Linked DNA regions of Homo sapiens: region 2 is linked to region 1. The links are contacts of gene promoters, found by promoter capture Hi-C in blood cells and fetal thymus (Javierre and others, 2016). All regions are on one chromosome and are shown on one strand. Each heading gives the region's core, a stretch centred on a gene start or on the middle of the fragment in contact. The rest is flanking DNA. Distances are from core to core; before and after follow the strand shown. Region 1 holds the start of SYCE2 (synaptonemal complex central element protein 2). Region 2 overlaps RNASEH2A (ribonuclease H2 subunit A).

Region 1 (3,213 bases), core at 436-2,935:
TCAGAATGAAGATCCAGAGATACAGGGGAAACTGTGTTTTTGTTTTGTTTTGTTTTGAGACGGAGTCTGGCTCTGTTCCCTGGGCTGGAGTGTAGGGGCGATCTTGGCTCACAGCAGCCTCAGCTTCCCAAGCAGCTGGGATTACAGGTGCCCGCCACCATGCCTGATTAATGAAAAGTGTCTTATGCTTAGGTTCAGCAAAGTTTGAACACCCAGGTAGAAATTTGATTGGACAAAAAGGGTTTGTCGTGGTTCATACTTGTAATCCTGACACTTTGGGAGGCTGAGGCGGGTGGATCACTTGAGGCCAGGAGTTTGAGACCAGCCTGAGCAACATGGAAAAACCCCATCTCTACTAAAAATACAAAAATTAGCTGGGCATGGTGCATCTGTAATCCCAGCTACTTGGTTGGCTGAGAATCGCTTGAACCTGGGAGGCCAAGGTTGCAGCGAGTTGAGATCTTGCCACTGCACTCCAGTGTTGCCTGGACAACAGAGCAAGACAAAAAAAAAAAAAAAAAAAAAAAGCCGGGGGGGTCGTCTAATACTAATAGGCTGAGTGGGGAAACCCAGCAAGGCCTATCTGTCTAGATTCTTCTTGGAGTCTCAGGAATGCATGCTCAGAGAGGCCAAGAAGAATCTAGATAGATAGGCCTTGTGTGGGGCAGAAACTTCTTTGAAACGGGGGTCTTATGACCTACAGTCAATAGGGTAGATCAGATAATTTCTTCTTTTTTTGAGACAGCACTTTGGGAGACCAAGACGGGAGGACGGCTTGAGCCCAGGAGTTGGGGATCAGCCTGGGCTCAGCACAGTGAGATCTCATTTCTACAGGAAAAAAAAATATAATTATGTGTGTGTGTGTGTGTGTGTGTGTGTGTATATATACATACAATCTTTTTTTTTTTTTTGAGACGGAGCTTTACTCTGTCACCCCGGCTGGAGTGCAGTGGCATGATCTCAGCTCACTGCAACCTCTGCGTCCTGGGTTTAAGCAATTCTCCTGCCCCAGCCTCCCGAGTAGCTGGGACTATAGGCGCCCGCCACCACGCCCGGCTATTTTTTGTATTTTTAGTAGAGACAGTTTCACCATGTTGGCTAGGCTGGTCTCGAACTCATGACCTCAGGTGATCCACCCGCCTCGGCCTCCCAAAGTGCTGGGATTACAGGCGTGAGCCACCGCGCCCGGCCAGAAAAATATTTTTAAATTAGAAGGGCCTGGTGAATGACACTGCTACTCAGGAGGCCGAGGCAGGAGGATCGCTTGAACCTGGGAGGTCGAGGCTACAGTGAGCTGTGATCGCACCACTGCACTCCAGCCTGGGCGACAGACCAAGATCTTGTCTCAAAAAAAAAAAAAAATTGTTATGGAGTATATTTTCCAAGGCAGAGTGGATGAAGTTAGAAGCACCGAATAAATACAGGACTCTGAGATCCGTATAACCTGGGCGCCCCGTGGAACCCAGGAGCCTCACAGGGGCACACAAGCGCACCCAGAGCGCGCCGTCCTGCTCCCAAGGGGCGCCGACTGCGCGCGCAGCCCGCGGACCGCGAAACTGCTGCTTAACGGTCGGCCCCGCCCAGTTGGCCGCGCAAGTTCTCAAAGAGGGCGGGGCCGGGAGCACGCGTCACAACACACTCGTCCGCGGGAGCGCAGCTGGCCAGGGGCGGGGTCGGCGCATGCGCAGAGGGTGCGAGCTTGAAGGCGGGAAAATACGGAATGGAGCGACAGGGAGTACGCGGCGCTTGTTTCCTTCTCGCGCGTGGGGCGGGCGGACAGATAGGCAGGGAACGGCTGCGATCCCAGCCATCTCCAGCGGACCCGAGCCCGGCCGCTTGTCCTTTGCCATTGGGGCTCCCTCTCATCAGGCCTGGCCTCAAATTTCCTGACTGACTGAACCCGGCCCTGACTGACGCACTGACGGGTCTGATTTCCACACATGGCGCGTGGCCGGAACGGAGTAGAGAAAGGCACAAACACCCACGCACCGCACCCGTTTCTTTCATTTCTTTTTTTTTTTTTTTTTGAGACGAAGTATCACTCTGTCGCCCAGTCTGGAGTGCAGTGGCGTGATCTCGGCTCACTGCAACCTCTGCCTCCCGGGTTCAAGTGATTCTCCTTCCTCAGCCTCCCGAGTAGCTGGGATTACAGGCACGCACCACCACGTCAGCTAATTTTTGTATTTTTAGTAGAGACGGGGTTTCACCATATTGCTCAGGCTGTTCTCGCACTCCTGACCTCGTGATCCGCCCGCCTCCGCCTCCCAAAGTGCTGGGATTACAGGCGTGAGCCACCGCGCCCGGCCTCATCTCTTTTCTCCTACCTCTTCTCCTTTCTCGAAGGACTCCAGCCAACACACATACCAGTTAGGAGCCCAGGTCCTCCAGTTACATTCCCACAGCCCTGCCCTCACCCGGCCCCTCTAGGTCTGGTGTCCTGGTGTCCCCTAGGGACAGAGTGTCCTTTCACCCCATGCCCCTGCCCTCATGGCACCTGCCCCAGCCCTGCCCGTCTTTCCTGCGGGTCCCCACCGTCCCGCAGCAGCACATCGAGGTGACCAGGGTTGAAGGGTCGGCAGGAGGGCGATCTGTTCACTCCTCATCCTCCCTCCTTGGCCTCCGTCCTGACTGTGCTTGCAGGTGGACGTGCCCCATGTGAAATGCAAAGACCAGGAACCGCAGCCCTTGGGGGAGAGCAAGGAGCATCCGCGGTGGGAAGAGAACTGCGAGGAGGAAGCTGGTGGAGGGCCAGCTAGGTGAGGAAGATCCCAGCCCTATGGGTCTACACAGGCCCCTGGGTCCCTCTCATTCACCCTTTTCTTCCACAAGGCTATGCCAGTGTCTGCTGCTTTTTTTTTCCCTCCTAACACAGCGTCTTGCTTTGTCACCACGCAGTGGCATGATCACGGCTCACTGCAACCTCCACCTCCCAGACTCAAGTGATCCTCCCACCTCAGCCTCCGAAATGGCTGGGACTAGAGGCGGGCCAGAATGTCGGGCCAATTTATTAAAAAATATTGGCCAGGTGCAGTGGTTCACACCTGTAATCCCAACACTTTGGGAGGCCAAGGCGGGTGGATCACCTAAGGTCGGGAGTTTGAGACCAGCCTGACAAACATGGAGAAACCCCGTCTCTACTAAAAATACAAAATTAGCTGGGCATAGTGGCACATGCCTGTAATCCCAGCTACTCAGGAGGCTGAGGCAGGAGAA
Region 2 (3,213 bases), core at 714-3,213, 110 kb after region 1:
ACGGGCTTGGGACCCTTCATTGAGGAAGTAGGATGTGATCTTCCTGAGTCCCTCCTGATTCTCGGATGCTGAGTCCTCCCTGTGGGAGAGAGGTGATGACAGTGACCACTTACACAGGGAGCAACCCTCTCAGGCAGGGCTGAACGCTGGCCTCCCTCCTTCCTTCCCTATAGCACCCCCAGGACATCCATGACACCCACCATATAACATCTTCCGCCTCTTTCTCCAGGATGGTCTGGGCCGTGCGCCAGCTGAACCGGACAAACTGGGGGAAGCCGAACACAGGCTCCACGTGCTCCTTCAACCACGCTTTTGTCTTGGGATCTGGGGTAGGGTGGGCAATGGTGACAGTCCAAGTTGCACCATAACATTCAAGCTCCCTGCCACTCTTTTTTTTTTCTTTGAGATGGAGTCCCACTCTGTAGCCAGGCTGGAGTGCAGTGGCGCGATCTCAGCTCACTGCAACCTCCACCTCCCGGATTCAAGCGATTCTCCTGCCTCAGCCTCCCAAGTAGCTGGGACTACAGGCGCATGCCACCATGCCCAGCTAAATTTTGTGTTTTTAGTAGTGACGAGGTTTCACCATGTTGGCCAGGATGGTCTCAATTGCTTGACCTCGTGATCTACCCCCCTCGGCCTCCCAAAGTGCTGGGATTACAGGCATGAGCCACCACGCCCGGCCTCCTTGCCGCTCTTCTAAGGCTTCCTCCTGAGTACCTGGGGCACCTCCTATGGTCTGAAGCACCTTCTTGCCACAGGACCTTTACCTGGCCAAGAGCTGCTAAAAGGGCAGTGCAGGGAGACTGCCTCTGAGACATCTCCTTGACCTCCAAGAACAAGTCATTAAACATTTTTATTTTATTTACTTATTTTTTGAAATGGAGTCTTGCTCTGTCACCCAGGCTGTAGTGCAATGGTGCGATCTCGGCTCACTGCAACCTCCGCCTCCCAGGTTCAAGCGATTCTCCTGCCTCAGCCTCCCAAGTAGCTGGGACTACAGCCACCCACCACCATACCTGGCTAATTTTTGTATTTTTAGTAGAGACGGGGTTTCACCATATTGGACAGGCAGGCTGGTCTCAAACTCCTGACCTCAGGTGATCCACCCACCTCAGCCTCCCAAAGTGCTGGGATTACAGGTGTAAACACCACACCCAGCCTTTTTATTTTTTTGAGATAGGGTCTCGCTCTATTACCCAGGCTGGAGTGCAGTGACATTATCACAGCTCAATGCAACCTCTGCCTCCCAGGCTCAAGCCATCCTCTCACCTCAGCCTCCCAAGTAGCTGGGACTACAGGTGCGCACCACCACACCTAATTTTTGTATTTTTTGTAGAGATGGGGTCTTGTCATATTGCCCAGGCTGGTTGTGAATTCCTGAGTTCACATGATCTACCTGCCTCTGTCTCTTAAAATGCTAGGATTACGGGCATGAGCCACCTGGCCCAGCCTGTCATTAAATATTATTATTATTATTATTATTATTATTTTGAGATGGAATTTTGCTCATTTCCCAGGCTGGAGTGCAATTATGCGATCTCGGCTCACTGCAACCTCCACCTCCCAGGTTTAAGTAATTCTCCTGCCTCAGCCTCCCGAGTTGCTGGGATTACGGGCGTGTGCCACCACGTCCAGCTAATTTTGTATTTTTAGTAGAGATGGGGTTTCACCACGTTGGTCAGGCTGGTCTAGAACTCCTGACCTCAAAGGATCCACCTGCCTCAGCCTCCCAAAGTCCTGGGATTACAGGTGTGAGCCACCACGCCTGGCTAACATTATTTTTTTTTTTGACACAAGATCTCATCTTGTCACCAAGGCTGGAGTGCAGTGGCATAATCATAGCTCACTGCAGCCTCCAACTCCTGGGCTCAAGCAACCCACCCACCTTAGCCTCCTCCTCCAGAGTAGCTGGGACTACAGGTGGGCACCACTATAACCGGCTAATTTTTTAAATTTTTTATAGAGATGGGGGTCTCGCTATGTTGCCCAGGCTGGTCTTGAACTCGAGGACTCAAGCGGTTCTCCTACCTCAGCTTCCCAAAGTGCTGGGATTACAGGCATGAGCCACCACGCCTGGTCCCCTTCCCCTTAACAAAGGGACAAATGCCCACCTTGGGTCTCAGTCCATCACTGGGGCTCCAGAAAGACAGCAAAGTGGGAAGCGGGGAAGACAGCAGCAATCCTATGGCCTGGAATTCAGCTCTATCACTCACTGGCTGTGTGGCCATAAACAAATGGCACCACTGTCTAACACTTGGCCTCTTTCACTGTGGAGTAGGGTGACCAGAGCAATTTAGAAAACCTCCAGCCAGGCACAGTAGTTCACACCTGTAATCCTAGCTATTTGGGAGTCCAAGGCAGGAGGATCACTTAAGCCCAGGAATTCAAGACCAGGCTGGGCAACATAGGGAGACCCCATCTCTTTAAAAAAAGAAGAAAAAAAGGGCCAGGGGTGGTGGCTCATGGCTGTAATCCCAGCACTTTGAAAGACCAAGGTGGGAGGACTGCTTGACTCCAGGAATTTGAGACCAGCCTGGGCAACATGACAAGACCCCATCTCTATAAAAACAAAAAATAGGCTGGGCACGGTGGCTCATGCCTGTAATCCCAGCACTTTGGGAGGCTGAGCCAGGCAGATCACCTGAGGTCAGGAGTTCAAGACCAGCCTGACCAACATGGAGAAAACTAGTCTCTACTAAAAACACAAAATTAGCTGGGTGTGGTGGCACATGCCTGTAATCCCAGCTACTCGCGAGGCTGAGGCAGGAGAATCGCTTGAAGCCAGGAGGTGGAGGTTGCGGTGAGCCGAGATCGCACCATTACACTCCAGCCTGGGCAAAAAGAGCGAAACTCCGTCTCAAAAAATAAACAAAAATAACAAATAAAAACAAAAAATAAGCAAAATAAAATGATAAATGACAGAAAGGAAAAAAAGAAAACCTCAGAAGTGTGCTCAGCCCTGGCCATTTCAACATTAGTACCATGGTCACGTGTCTGCTCACCATTGGGGTAGCCTGAGCCATAATCAGTATCCAAGTCCTGCAGTTTCTCCACGAACTGCCATTTCTTCACGGCCTGGTCCCGGGCCACCTGTGGGCAAAACAGGCACCTGGAATCTCCCTCCTTCCCTTTGGTGGCCATGCCTGGCCCCTATATAGTGGGATGGTGGAAGCCAGCCATGGCTAGTAGGGTACTGACCTTGGCACAGATGCT

What was found. The method cuts DNA at HindIII sites, captures the fragments that hold promoters and counts their contacts. A CHiCAGO score of 5 or more calls a contact.
Region 2: a contact is called between a fragment that was not itself captured here and the fragment with the promoter of SYCE2 in region 1, in 1 of 17 cell types (erythroblasts). The highest score is 5.4, in erythroblasts.

Annotation. Positions count from the first base shown.
Region 1 is chr19:12,917,765-12,920,977 of GRCh38, reverse strand. It overlaps SYCE2 (synaptonemal complex central element protein 2), which reads left to right and starts at 1,685. Exons shown (of 6, transcript NM_001105578.2): 1 at 1,685-1,735; 2 at 2,641-2,756. The coding sequence starts at 1,721. It overlaps MIR5695 (microRNA 5695), which reads right to left and starts at 658; the gene lies at 574-658. RefSeq lists an enhancer at 1,866-2,005. The HindIII fragment of the contact is 4,677 bases long and covers 1-3,213 here.
Region 2 is chr19:12,810,194-12,813,406 of GRCh38, reverse strand. It overlaps RNASEH2A (ribonuclease H2 subunit A), which reads right to left. Exons shown (of 8, transcript NM_006397.3): 5 at 3,199-3,213; 6 at 3,003-3,090; 7 at 201-324; 8 at 1-79. Among named protein-coding and RNA genes, the nearest start is that of RNASEH2A, 5.2 kb to the right of the region's middle. The HindIII fragment of the contact is 8,146 bases long and covers 1-3,213 here.